Regions from separate parts of the Homo sapiens genome. Here region 1 is linked to region 2. Evidence: promoter capture Hi-C in human tissues and cell types (Jung and others, 2019). All regions are on one chromosome and are shown on one strand. Each heading gives the region's core, a stretch centred on a gene start or on the middle of the fragment in contact. The rest is flanking DNA. Distances are from core to core; before and after follow the strand shown.

Region 1 (6,647 bases), core at 289-2,788, 580 kb before region 2:
CAAGATCAAGACATTGAGACCATCCTGGCCAACACGGTGAAACCCTGTCTCTACTAAAAATACAAAAATTAGCTGGGCGTGGTGGCACACGCCTGTAGTCCCAGCTACTCGGGAGGCTGAGGCAAGAAAATCACTTGAACCCGGGAGGCGGACCTTGCAGTGAGCCGAGATCGTGCCATGGCACTCCAGCCTGGGCGACAGAGTGAGACTCTGTCTCAAAAAAAAAAAAAAAAATTAGCCAGATATGGTGGTGCATGCCGGTAGTCCCAGTTACTTGGGAGGCTGAGGCGGGAGGATTGCTTGAGCCCAGGAGTTTGAGGCTGTGGTGAGCTACGATTGTGCCACTGCACTCCAGCATGGGTAACAGAGCAAGACCCTATCTCTTTAAAAATATATATTTACAGCCTGAGCAACATGGTAAAACCCCGTCTCTAGTAAAAATACAAAAATTAGCCAGGCGTGGTGGCAGGCACTTTTAATCCCAGCTACTCAGGAGGCTGAGGCAGGAGAATCCCTTGAACCTGGGAGATGGAGGTTGCAGTAAGTTGAGATTGCACCACTGCACTCCAGCCCGGGCGACACAGCGAGATTCCGTCTCAAAAAAAAAAAAAAAAAAAAAAAAAAAAAAATATATATATATATATATATATATATATGTGTGTGTGCATAAATAAATTAGCTAAGAGAAGGAAATTCTTTCTGTAAATGCCTTCTTTTTGGCCCTAGTCAACATTAACTTATTCATTCTACAGCCACTTACATTGGAACTGTGACCTGAAACCAAAGGGATAGGCATAGGAACCTGGGCCAGTGGACTGTGAGGGATAGAGGGAAAGGTGGGCAGGTGGGCAGGTGGGCCTAGTGACCCCACAGGTGTGAGAAGGCTGGGTCATTGATGGGCCACAGGAGCACCCAGAAGGCTCAGGCCCAGGCTCGGAAGCAGCTTGTCCTGTCCTTGGCACCCACAGACAGGCGATATTCAGCGGGTTCCAGGTCTGTAGGAGGCCAGGGAGGATCTACCCTCACTCACTCTCCCCTCTACCTTCGCCTCTAGACCCCAGCTTGGTTGCTTTCTTGAGATCTCACAGCCACACGCAAGAGCAAACAGGAGAGACAGCCTCTGAGGAGCAGAGGCCAGGAGGACCCTCTGCTAATGTCACCAAGGAGGAACCCCTCATGTCAGCTTTTGCCAGTGAGCCCAGGAAGAGAGACAAGCTGGAGCCAGAAGCCCCAGGTTTGCAGGAGGCGGGGGTCATATTTTGGTGGATAAAAGTAGGGGAAATTGTCCCTTTTCCTAGGCCTGGCAAATGAGAGAAGAGAGAAGCTTCTGTGCTTTTGGACATCTAACATTAATCCTCATTATTGGCTTCAAGTCAGTCTTCATTGCTGATGCATGTCTTCTTCCTGCACATGCTTCCTGTTTTCTTGTCCTGTTACTGCCCCTTCTCCGCCTTCCCTTTTAAGAGGCAGCAATGCGTGATGGCTGAATCCCACTCCACCCGCTCCCGGCAGACTATCTTCCTGTCCTTGCTGTAGCTGCCCCAGCTCTGGCTCTGTCCATCCCACTGTTCTTTCTCTCTCTGCTCACAGTGCTGGGGGAAAGATGGCAGGGCCAGAGTAATAAGAGAGGCAGAATCTGACAAAGATCTTATGAACATGCCAGACCAGAAGCAGAGAGGCCAGTGGAAGCACTCATTTCCCAGAAACTAGATTATTTCATTAGTGATTAACAAAATAAGAAATTGAATTATGAGAGCCAGGAACCTCATGCCCCCGGAGGAGCTCCAGGCCAGCTGAGCAGGTTGGGTGGGGGTAGGCGTGAAGGAGGAAAATGCTGTGGGATTTGTTTCTGTATCCTGCCCCCCAGGAGCAGTATAGTTGCCTCCTCCTCATTGTCCCCACTCTCCTACTCCTTTAAGGGCTGGTACTGGAAAGTGGAGATGGTGCCTTCCTGACATATGTGGTCCTCCTTCTTCATCTTTTTCTCCTTTCTTTCTCTTTCTTCCTTCTCCTTCTCCTCCTCTCTCCCCTCCCAACAAATCCTTGGGGTCAGCAAGGGGCTGGAGCCCAGGATGGAGTGTGTCTGTCATATTTGAGACTTTCACCCCAGCCCCAGGAGTTCCAGTCCCTGGGCCATGCCATTTAGCCATAACCGAGGGTAGAAGCTGGCAGATCCTGGAACAGAAGTGGATGTGGCAGCTGCTGGGTGATGGTGGGGACCCCTGTGGATAGTGAGCTGAGCCGTTTGGGTAATACTATCATGCTTTGTCTCCCCAGCTCTGGCATTGCCCGTGACCCCTCAGAAAGAATGGCTGCACATGGACACTGTCGAGCTGGAGAAGCTCCACTGGACCCAGGACTTGCCCCCTGTCCGGCGGCAGCAGACACAGGAGGTGAGGAGGGCCACCTGGCCTACAAGGGGTGGGTGAGATAGGGCAGGAGAGGAGCTGCTGCTCTTGCCCTCAGAACTCAGGCCTTTCTATTGCCCAGAGCCTGAGAAGCATCTCTCCTTTGCTCTCACCCACCTTTACCATCACTCTGCCTGGCCCCCAAGGCCAGATAAGCCCCATTTCTGGTAGAAGTAGAGTCAGTACCTAAGTCCTGAAAGGCCTGGGATTAAAGGTGGGGAGTGGGTGTGGGAAGGTTGCTGGAGCCCCCAGACCACAGTCCTCTTTCTCTTCCCATTAGAGGATGCAGGCTCGATTCAGTCTTCAGGGAGAACTACTGGCCCCTGACGTGGACCTGCCCACCCACCTGGGTCTGCACCACCATGGAGAGGAGGCAGAGGTGAGGCATGGGACTGGAGAGGATGGGGCAGCTCTTTTAACAACCCCATGGAAAAGGATCTCTGGTCAACTGCCTTTGACCTTCTGTGTGCCCTGTTCTAGTTCATGCCTTTGCTGTGCATTCAGTTTCTTTTTTTGGAGACAGAATCTCGCTCTGGCCCAGGCTGGAGTGCAGTGGTATGATCTTGGCTCACTGCAGCCTCCACCTCCTGGGTTCAAGCCATTCTCCTGCCTCAGCCTCCTGACTAGCTGGGATTACAGGCGCATGCCACCACGTCCAGCTAATTTTTGTATTTTTAGTAGAGACGGGGTTTCACCATGTTAGCCAGGATGGTCTTGATCTCCTGAGCTTGTGATCCGCCTGCCTCGGCCTCCCAAAGTGCTGGGATTACAGGCGTGGCATTCAGTTTCTTAGGCTCAAAATCTTGATCCTCTCTCCGTATTCTGGTCAGTTGCTAGAATTTGCCGATCTTCTGTCACCTCCTCATGATGCCTCCTGCACTGTGGCCTTGCTTCCTTGGTCTGCTCACTCTCCATGCCCTCCATTCTCCGCCCCCCTGCCATTCCATGTCTCTCGGGGCTGCTGTGCTGATTTCTTCTGGCCCAGCTCAGGCCATGCCTTGCCTCCAGAAGTTTCCCAGCTTCCCTCTGCTCACAAAATAAGGTTCTGGTCTCAGCTGGGCAAGATATTCCTTCTACCTTTTGTCCCTGCTGACCCTGCTGCTCTGCCTCCTTCACTTCCTGCTACACCACTCTGCTGGCTTCTCCCCACATACCTCCTGTGCTCAGGGCCCTCCAGGACTCCACTCGCTCCAGGAAATGCCTTTGCCTTTTGCTCCATGTCAGGCCATCAAAGCTCTACCCATCCACTGAGACCAATTTAATTTTCCAGGTTCCCTTCTCTCTCTCTCCTGTCCGCCGGTCGCAAATTAAACATCAGTTATCACGTTCCTCTGCATCTGCCTCATGGCATGGTTACTTGTATGCAAGTCTTATCTTTACCGGCTTGAGGCTCCATGGAAAGCAGGGCAGATTTCACTTATTTATCTTTGTCTTTCCTGTGATACCTTGCTTGGTGTTTTGGGGGCACTGTGCTGTATCCTGGCTGCTTCTGACTTCTTGTCCCTGCCCCAGAGAGCGGGGTATTCCCTACAGGAGCTGTTCCACCTGACCCGCAGCCAGGTTTCCCAGCAGAGAGCACTGGCACTGCATGTGTTAGCCCAGGTCATCAGCAGGGTGAGTGGATTGCCAGCCTGGTCCTGCCCACCCTTCCCTTCACCCCACAGCCTCAGACTTCCCCATCTCCTGCCCTTTTCACTCTGGCTCACTAGCCAGCTATGTGCTTTTAACAACCTAGGATCATAGGGGGGCAAACGAAGGATTAGGGCAAAGCCTCTAGATAACTTCAGCATCTTCAGCAAGGTTTTACCCTCCTGCCCTCAGGCCCAGGCTGGTGAGTTTGGGGACCGGCTAGCAGGCAGTGTCTTAAGCCTCCTTTTGGATGCTGGTTTCCTCTTCCTACTGCGCTTCTCCTTGGATGACAGAGTGGATGGGGTCATTGCAACCGCCATCCGTGCTCTTCGGGCTCTGCTGGTGGCTCCTGGAGATGAGGTACCACAGGGATAGGAATGGGGCTTGGGCTGGGAGGTGCCAGGGTCCATATTCCTGTTCCTGGGCATGGCCCCATTGCTAAGGCTTTGCGGGCAAGATGTAGAATGGGATGGCAGGCGTCTCCCTCATCTCCTAAAGTCCCTAAAGCCCAGGAGGCTTGCCTTTATGGTTTTTATTGGGGAGCATCCTCTCTACTCCTGGATCCATTTCCTGGCCCCTTCAGCATTGCCCCCCAACTCCCGTTCCTCTGGCAGGAGCTCCTCGACAGCACCTTCTCTTGGTACCATGGAGCTTTGACGTTCCCTCTGATGCCCAGCCAGGAGGACAAGGAGGATGAGGACGAGGATGAAGAATGCCCAGCAGGAAAAGCAAAAAGGAAAAGCCCTGAAGAAGAAAGCCGGCCTCCACCTGACCTGGCCCGACATGATGTCATCAAGGTAAAGGGACAGCTTCTTTCCCATCCCATGGCCCAGGGGACAAGCACATGCTGGAAAGAGGGGCCATCAATGCCCAGGGTCCAGCTGCATTTGTCAGTGGGTTTCTCTCTCCAACTCCCAGGGGCTCCTGGCTACCAGCCTGCTGCCTCGGCTGCGCTACGTGCTGGAGGTGACATACCCAGGACCTGCGGTGGTCCTTGACATCCTGGCTGTGCTCATCCGCCTGGCCCGGCATTCCCTGGAATCAGCCACAAGGGTGAGAAAAAAGGGAGCAGGGAATGGGCAAAAAGCCTAGCTGGGCCTTGTCTTGACCCACAGCCTCCCTTCCTCCCTTTTACCTCCTGTCTCCCATAGGTCCTGGAGTGCCCTCGGCTGATAGAGACTATAGTTCGAGAGTTCTTGCCCACCAGTTGGTCTCCTGTGGGGGCAGGGCCTACCCCTAGTCTATACAAAGTACCCTGTGCTACTGCCATGAAACTACTTCGTGTCCTGGCCTCAGCTGGGAGGAATATTGCTGCCCGGCTGGTGAGCAGGACACAGGGCAAGGGATGGGGGAATGCATGGGACAGGGTTGGGTTGGGAGCTAAACATGGCTCCTGAACTCTGGGTGGCCAGCTCTTGCCATCTTCTTCCTCTCTGATCCAGTTGCTTAGAAATGCAACAGAAATCACCAGGCATGAACCTGTTTACTGGAGCCTGTTTACTGGAGCCTGGTGCATCATATAGGTATACTGTGGTCTCATGATGTAATAGGAGGTCTCCCTGTTCCCTAGACCCAGATCAGAAGGGCTTCATGCACATAGGCATTCATCATCTATAGCCAAGTAGCCCTAGAGAAGGTGCCCAGCAAGCCTTGCTATAAAGAGGGAGGGCTGGGTGTAGTGGCTCAGGCCTGTAATCCCAGCACTTTGGGAGGCCAAGGCAGGAGGATCACTTGGGGCCAAGAGTTCAGGGGCCAGCCTGGACAACATAGCAAGACTCTGTCTCTACAAAAAACAAAAACAAAAAATTAGCTAGATGTGGTAGCACATGACTGTAGTCTCAGCTACTCGGTAGGCTGAGGTAGAAGGATCACTTGAGCTGGGAGGTGGAGGCTGCAGTGGGCTGGTTGCACCAATCACTGCACTACAGCCTAGGCAACAGGGCGAGACCCCGTCTCAAAAATACTACTACTGGCCAGGTGCAGTGGCTCACGCCTGTAATCACAACACTTTGGGAGACCGAGGTGGTGGATCACTTGAGGTCAGGAGTTCGAGACCAGCCTGGCCAATATGGCAAAACCCCACCTCTACTAAAACTACAAAAATTAGCCAGGTATAATAGTGTGCGCCTGTAGTCCCAGCTACTTGGGAGGCTGAGGCAGGAGAATTGCTTGAACCCGGGAGATGGAGGGTGGAGTGAGCCAAGATCACACCACTGCATTCCAGCCTGGGTGGCAGAGCAAGATTCCATCTAAAAACAAATAATAGGGCCGGGCGCGGTGGCTCACACCTGTAATCCCAGCACTTTGGGAGGCCAAGGCAGGTGGATCATGAGGTCAGGAGTTCAAGACCAGCCTGACCAAGATGGTGAAACCCTGTCTCTACTAAAAATACAAAAAATTAGCCAGGCGTGGTGGCATGCGCCTGTAATCCCGGCTACTCCAGAGGCTGAGGCAGAGAATTGCTTAAACCTGGAGGGGCAGAGATTGCAGTGAGCCGAGATTGCGCCACTGCACTCCAGCCTGGGCGACAGAGCGAGACTCCATCTAAAAAAATAATAATAATAAAAATAAAAAAATAATAGGGGCTGGGTGCGGTGGCTCACACCTGTA
Region 2 (6,619 bases), core at 3,539-6,038:
TTGCCTCCCCTCAGGCACGTGTTGTTCCCTTACTCTCTGTTCCTCAGAGGCCCCTTCTCAGGTTCCCTCTCCAAGAAAGCCAAGAAGGCCTTCCCTGACTGCCCTGCTCAAGTCAGAAGCCCTTTCTGGGTGCTCAAGGCCCTCTTCTCCCATTCCACGCTGAATGGTCACCATCAGTTTCTAGACTCCAAGTTCCTTGAGGAGGAGGAGTTCTTTACCGCTGTATCCCCGTGCCTGGAATGGTGCATGGCACACAGTGGGAGCTTAAGGAAATACTTGCTGATCGAATGGCTTGATGGGTGAAAGCCCCCTACGTGCAGCTGGCAAGCAGCCCTCCCCACCATCAGCTCCCAGGATGGAGCAGGGCTGTGCTCTGGCTGTCTGGCAAGAGGCCCAGGAAACACAGGAGGCAGCTGCCCAGGGCTCCCTGCCACCTGCTGCCTCCTCCTTTTGTGTTGCCCTCACCAGGCACCCAGAAGAAGCTGGCTGGACTCCACACTCTTCCCATCAATGGCCAAGACACAAGGCCGCCAAGACATGAGCACACGGCCCAGGCATGGCACCCTCCCCAGCCACAACGGCTGCACAACCTGATCGGAGTTGACCCTGCTGGAGACACCCAGACCAATCCAGGACACCAGCCGCAAGAACAGCAGCAACACATACCACCCAGCCTGCCCCATACATCATCCCACGGCATCGTCCCCTCACAGTGAACTTGTACCCAGGGGGCTGAAGGCTTTTTCCGAGGTGACTGGGCAATGAGGAGGAGGCTGGGTTGGACTCTCAAGGCACTTTTTTTTTTTTTAATTTCCTTTGTATTTTTTATAGAGATGGGGTCTCACTGTGTTGTCCAGGCTGGTCTCGAATTCCTGGGCTCAAGTGATTCTCCCACCTTGGCCTCCCAAAGTACTGGGATTACAGGCATGAGCCACCACACCCAGCCCTTGGCCTCAAGCTCTTCTGCTGCTAGAGCCTGTCATTTTGGGTCTGCCCCATTCTGCAAGTTCAGGGATTGAGTAGCACTAAGAGGCCACTCCTGATGAGGAGCTCAGGCCCAGGCTGAGATCCTGGAGCTGTGATCTGTCCCCAAGGGCTAGACAAGAACATCTGGGGACAGGCAGGGGGTAAACTTGGGGCCCGCATTCCAGTGTGGGTAAACCAGGGCAGGTGATGGCAATGGGGAAGGCACAGGCAACACCACACTCCCGGAGGCAACAGTGAGCACTCAGACTCTGAAAGTAAAAGGGACACCAGGTCCTCCAGGCTACAGGTCCCTGCCATTAGCCTTGCCTTAGAAGTTGTCATCACCCTACCCTAACCCACGTGCTCCTTTAGCAGGACACCAGGGTTCTGGCCTAGCTGTTAGGAAGAGGCAGCCGCTGGCCCTGCAGCTGGAGGAAGAGCTGGTCTGAGCTCCAAGCCTGCCAGCCTCCTTGGGGCAGCTGGGCAGGATGAGACAGAGTCCAGGTTGGTGGCAAGGACACTGCTCACAGGGCTGCCAAGTAGAGCATGAGCTGAATTCTGCACAACTCAGGGGGTACTATTTGCATGCGTAAGGCATGAACTGTACCCATGAGAGTGATGTCACCTGCTAATTCTGCCTGCCCAGCTGCCCCTCCTGGGAAGAGAGGGAAGGAGAGGAAGAGGGAGCCCTTTCCCCTCTTAGGAGCCTTCCAGGGCATCACCACCTCACTTGCCCCAAACCCCCATCTGAGAAAGAACCACATTCCGGCACAGCACAGATAAAGAGATAGTTTTATGGGTAACAGTATGGGACAGACTGGGAAGGTTGCCAGGGCCTGTAGTGATGAGCTTCCCAGGAATAGACCAACACACAGGCAGGAGTGGCCCAGACAGACAAGTAGATAGACAGACAGACAGAGGGACAAGAAAACAACCAAGTGGGTAAGAGGCCCAGGCCAGGCTCAGCAGCTGTGTCCAGGCATCAGCTCCAGCTCTGCTCTGGGGAACTGGTGGAGGAGAAGGGCTGGCCGGGGCCTCAGTCCTTACAGGGCTCCTTCTCCTCATGCCCTACTATCCCTCATCCAGCCTGCTGGGATCCTTGGCAGGTGGAATTCCCAGGGCTATGGATGGCTGGGCTGAGTGAGCAGAGGATCGAGGCTCTTGGAGACTCCCTGGGGAGGTGGAGGCCTGGGTGGTGTGGGGTTAGCAGCAGCACTGGGGGGAATCTGGTCAAGTTCCAGGATGGGGCCACTGCTCAGCAGGGCCCCTGTGTCCAGGGCAGGCCCTCCACCTGCCCACCACACCAACATGGTGCAATAAATAAAGTTTCAAGTAGTAAGTCAGTGTCAAGCAGGAGAGCTGCAGGCTGGCAGACAGGCAGGGACTGAGAAAGAGAAGCCTCCAGCCACCCACCATATCTGCTCAGTGGGCTCAAGCGGTCGCAAGTCTGTCTTGTGCACTGGAGTGGGTGTCTGGCCCTGATGTCCACATGAGCACTCCCCGCAGGGGCTCAGCCCCTCACACCAGCGCCAGAGCCTGCTCGGTGGGGCAGAAGCAGGGCAACATGGTGCCCACAGCGTCCACGATGGCTGCCAGGTGCTCGTCCTGCGCCTGAGGCCCACAGAGCTGCATGAAGTCTGCCAGACGCAGCAAGTATTCAAGGTTGTGGCCGGAGAAGCCCCGGCAGGCCAGGATCTGCGTGGCAATGGCCTCTTCAGGCGCAGGGCCCAGGTAACCAGGGTTCTGTGGGGTGGCCACATAGGCCAATGCCTTCAGTGGTTGGTCAGGAGCATCTTGGGGATAGAAGGTGACCTCCTTGGTATCGTAGCCACCAAGCACTGCCTCTCGCACATTCAGGTACTTCAGGGCCTTGCTTACCTGCTCCCCTTGCACTTGGTATGCCACGCCCCAAGTGCAGCCCTGGGAAGAAATAGGGACACCCGGGGTCAGTCATGACAGCTCCTTGCTGCTCCCTCTCCTATCCTAACATGCCACCCCCACCCAGGACTGTGCTCTATAAGGGAGGCTGTGGTCGGCTGATGAGCCATCTGGTGGCAGTACCTCAAGCCCTTGTACTCTCTTTGTTAAGAACAGTTGAAAGGCCAGGCGTGGTGGCTCATGCTTGTAATCCCAACACTTTGAGAGGCCAAGGCAGGTGGATCACTTCAGGTCAGGTGTTCGAGACCGGCCTGGCCAAAATGGTGAAACCCCATCTCTACTAAAAATACAAAAATTAGCCAGGCATGGTGGCGTACGCCTGTAACCCAGCTACTCGGGAGGGTGAGGCAGTAGAATCGTTTGAACCCAGGAGGTGGAGGTTGCAGTGACTTCAGCCTGGGTGACAAGGGTAAGACTCCGTCTTAAAAAAAAAAAAAAAGGCATAGTTGAGGCCAGGTGCAGTAGCTCATGCCTGTAATCCCAGCATTTTGGGAGGCTGAGGGTGGGCAGATCACTTGAGATCAGGAGTTCCAGACCAGCCTGGCCAATATGGTGAAACTCCGTCTCTACTAAAAATACAAAAATTAGCTGAGTGTGGTAGCGCATGCCTGTAATCCCAGCTACTCGGGAGGCTGAGGTGGGAGAATCGCTTGAATCTGGAAGGCAGATGTTGCAGTGAGCCAAGATTGCATCACTGCACTCCAGCCTGGGCAACAGAGCAAGACTCTGTCTCAAAAACAAACAAACAAAACAACAACAACAACAACAAAAAAAAAAAACAGTTGACAAAGTGGTCTAGTACCAGGGAAGACAGGATTCCTCCTCAAAGTGTGGTCCAGGATGTGGTGGCATCACCTGTAAGCTAGTTAGGAATGCTGTGTCTCAGGACCCATTCTCATGCTACTGAACTAAAATCTGCATTCTAACAAGATCCTCATGTGATTTGGTGAGAAGCACTGAGCTAGAACACGTTTCTACTCTGCCAGAGAAGCATCAGACAGAGCTAGCCTGCAGCCAAGAGCCTATGAGCTCTCTCTGCTGGTCCCCCTTCACACTGGGCCAGGGTTCCCCTTCATGATTCGGGCACTTACCTCATGATCTTCAAGGAGCGTCACCACACGGCCAGGCTAGGGAGGGAAGAAATATTTTGAAATAGACAAGTTAGAAATCAGCTCTGCCATCAGCAAGGAAACCTTTATCAATCCCGCTGACCCGGGCCTCCAAGTGCCCCACTCTGCATGCTGAGTCCCATTCATGCAGGGGAAGGTGGGGGAGCGATGCACGGATGTAGGAGAAACGTCCAGAAACACTGACATGTCAGTGGTCCCAGTTGGTGATCAACACAGGGATCCACAGGTTCACAGACTCCAGCCATCACAGTGATGCACTGGGCACATACATTTAAATGAGCCACAAACCCCAGACACAGGTTTACACATTTCTTTCTATTGGCCCAGAGAGCCCCGGACATTCCAGGGCACTGGCGCCCAGTATCCCGCCCCCAACCCCCTCACTCCCCTGGGCACGGTTGGATGCTCACCATCTTGTCGCTGCCCCGATGGAAGGTGTCTCCCTGCCAGAAACGGCGGCTGTAGCCGCGCACGAAGCCCACACGGCTGTCGCTGTAGGCGAAGTCGGGCCTCCACACCAGGGAGCCGTACCCGAAAATCCACAGCGCTTGAGGGTCGCCGTCGTTTCGGGGGAACTGAGCGGACGGCGTAGGGGACTGCGAGGTGGGCGGGGTGTTCGGGGCTGCAGACTCCTGCTTCATGGTGCCTGGCACAGGGATAGGCCCAGGCGGCCTCCGGGGCTGGTCTCCGGCGTGGGCACGGAAAGACCGACGGACGCACACACCTGGCCTGGCACCGCTCGGTAGCTCCAGCTGAGCGCCCCCCATGGAGGCGCCCTTTAAACCTTCTTGCCGGGAGACCACGCCCACCGCGGCCAGCTGCCGCGGTGATTGGGGTGGGGCAAATCCCCTTTTGGCCAATCAACTTCGGATTCTGCTTCTCACTTAACCGCGCCGCGGGCCCAGCGCGCCCGCTGATTGGTTCAGCTCCACCTCTGTGGCAAACCTGGCAGGAGTGATGCAACGGCAGGGGAGGTTTCTCCAGCGCCGGCATGCAGCAAGGGCGCCTCGGATTGCGTCAGGCGGCGGGCAGGGGGCACCCGCCGGGCCCAGGGCGGGCACCGGGCGGGCGTCTCCCCAGCCGCCCCCTCATGACCTGGGCCCCTTGGAGGTACGGCGAGCGAGTCCCAGGCGGTGTCAGCCCAGCCTTGCCGCTAGTGCATCTGGCCGAGTCCCTGCCAGCCTAGGCGGCACAGACTCAGTCCCAAGTCGAGTCCAGGGCACGTCCAGAAGGAGCGCTCTGGGCGTCGTAAACTTCCGTCTCTGGGGCCCCTCCTGAGATCATGCACTGCGGGAAAGCTGTCGGAGGCACCGTCCGCATTCCGCTCAAGTGCCTCACGCCGTTGGCCATTGTGAGCAAATGGAGAAACTGGGCCACGGGGCTGCAGGGGGTTCTGCAGAGACTGCGGGGCTGAGTTAGGTAGGCCAGGCGCCCGGAGCTTGCAGGCCTCACATGGGCTACGCCCCGGACCAGGTGTGGGACCCCTCGAGCCCAGGTAGGCTCGGGGAAGAGCCTGTTAGAGCGCTTGGACCGACCGGCAGTCACTTTGGAGGTGGTGGCTGCACCTGCGGAGAAAGGCTATAAAGATGCAAAAGCCAGGCTAGTCTTGCCCCCAAGGCGATGGGTTTAATTCTTCCTGGACGTGAGATTTTGCAGCAATGATTAATCCATAGGCACAAGGTTCCGGGAGCAGCGGGCAAGGAGGGCCCAGTGAGGCCCCCACAAGACTATGGCCAGCTACTGGTCTTCTCCCTCGGCTTCTGGCCTCCCAGCCGAGTCCACAGGCCGCCGGGGGTTGACCCAATACGCAGCAAGGGACTGCCCTCAGGGGATGTCACTGACTGTAAAAGGGAAACAGAGGCAGCTGAAGGCCTTCTCTCTAAACTGGCCAGGAGATGGCTGGCAGGGGCAATGTGCAACATGGCTTCTCATTCGATTCTAATTCAATATTTAAACTAAACGTGATCTTCACACTTCACATATTCATTCCGAAGGTGTCGCAGATATAAGTGGGAAACTTGCACAACAGTGTGTATAGTACAAAGCTATTTCTTTAAAAACAAAAAGTATTCGTGTAATAAATAATCTGGAAGAATATACCTAAACAGTTAGCAGAGGCTGGCACCAGAGGAGGACTTTCAGTATCAAACTTAAACAGTAATGAAAAAGTCTGGATTTTTACAGGGAGCATGAATTACTTTTCCAATCAGGAAAAAAAAAAAATTACCAGCAAATGGTCCTTTCTGGTTATTCCTTTCTTTTTCGCTTTCTCTCCATTTCCCACATTCAGTCTCCCTCTTCTCTTCTATCCTGTCCCCTTTCGTTCATATGAGCACCTCCTTTGTTGGTAGCTTCTTAGAAGAATGTCCTCTTTTCCACTCACCAGCTGTGGGTTGTAGTCCGGGAAGTGGGAAACTGGTATCCACATATTGCTGAAGTATCTGAATTGGCACAAACAACCCTTTGAGAAAGCAGCTTGGTGATACAAGTCAAGAATCACAAAATATCCCTGCCCTTTGACCCAATACTCCTTCAGGAAATTATTCAAAATACGGGAAAAGCCATATGCCTGAAGATTTTCAATG

What was found. The method cuts DNA at HindIII sites, captures the fragments that hold promoters and counts their contacts. A contact is called where the count stands out against the background at its distance.
Region 1: a fragment that was not itself captured here is called in contact with the fragment with the promoter of CHAC1 in region 2 in 1 of the 25 tissues and cell types used here (spleen).

The regions. Positions count from the first base shown.
Region 1 is chr15:41,525,610-41,532,256 of GRCh38, reverse strand. It overlaps RPAP1 (RNA polymerase II associated protein 1), which reads left to right. Exons shown (of 25, transcript NM_015540.4): 7 at 1,055-1,234; 8 at 2,278-2,393; 9 at 2,689-2,787; 10 at 3,921-4,022; 11 at 4,230-4,397; 12 at 4,652-4,834; 13 at 4,956-5,090; 14 at 5,189-5,359. Among named protein-coding and RNA genes, the nearest start is that of LTK, 15 kb to the right of the region's middle. The HindIII fragment of the contact is 5,608 bases long and covers 1-4,342 here.
Region 2 is chr15:40,951,640-40,958,258 of GRCh38, reverse strand. CHAC1 (ChaC glutathione specific gamma-glutamylcyclotransferase 1) reads right to left here and starts at 4,788. Exons shown (of 3, transcript NM_024111.6): 1 at 4,445-4,788; 2 at 3,996-4,031; 3 at 1,747-2,886. The coding sequence starts at 4,675. The coding sequence ends at 2,485. RefSeq lists enhancers at 1-507, 2,010-2,560, 4,986-5,579 and a silencer at 5,055-5,314. The HindIII fragment of the contact is 19,989 bases long and covers 1-6,619 here.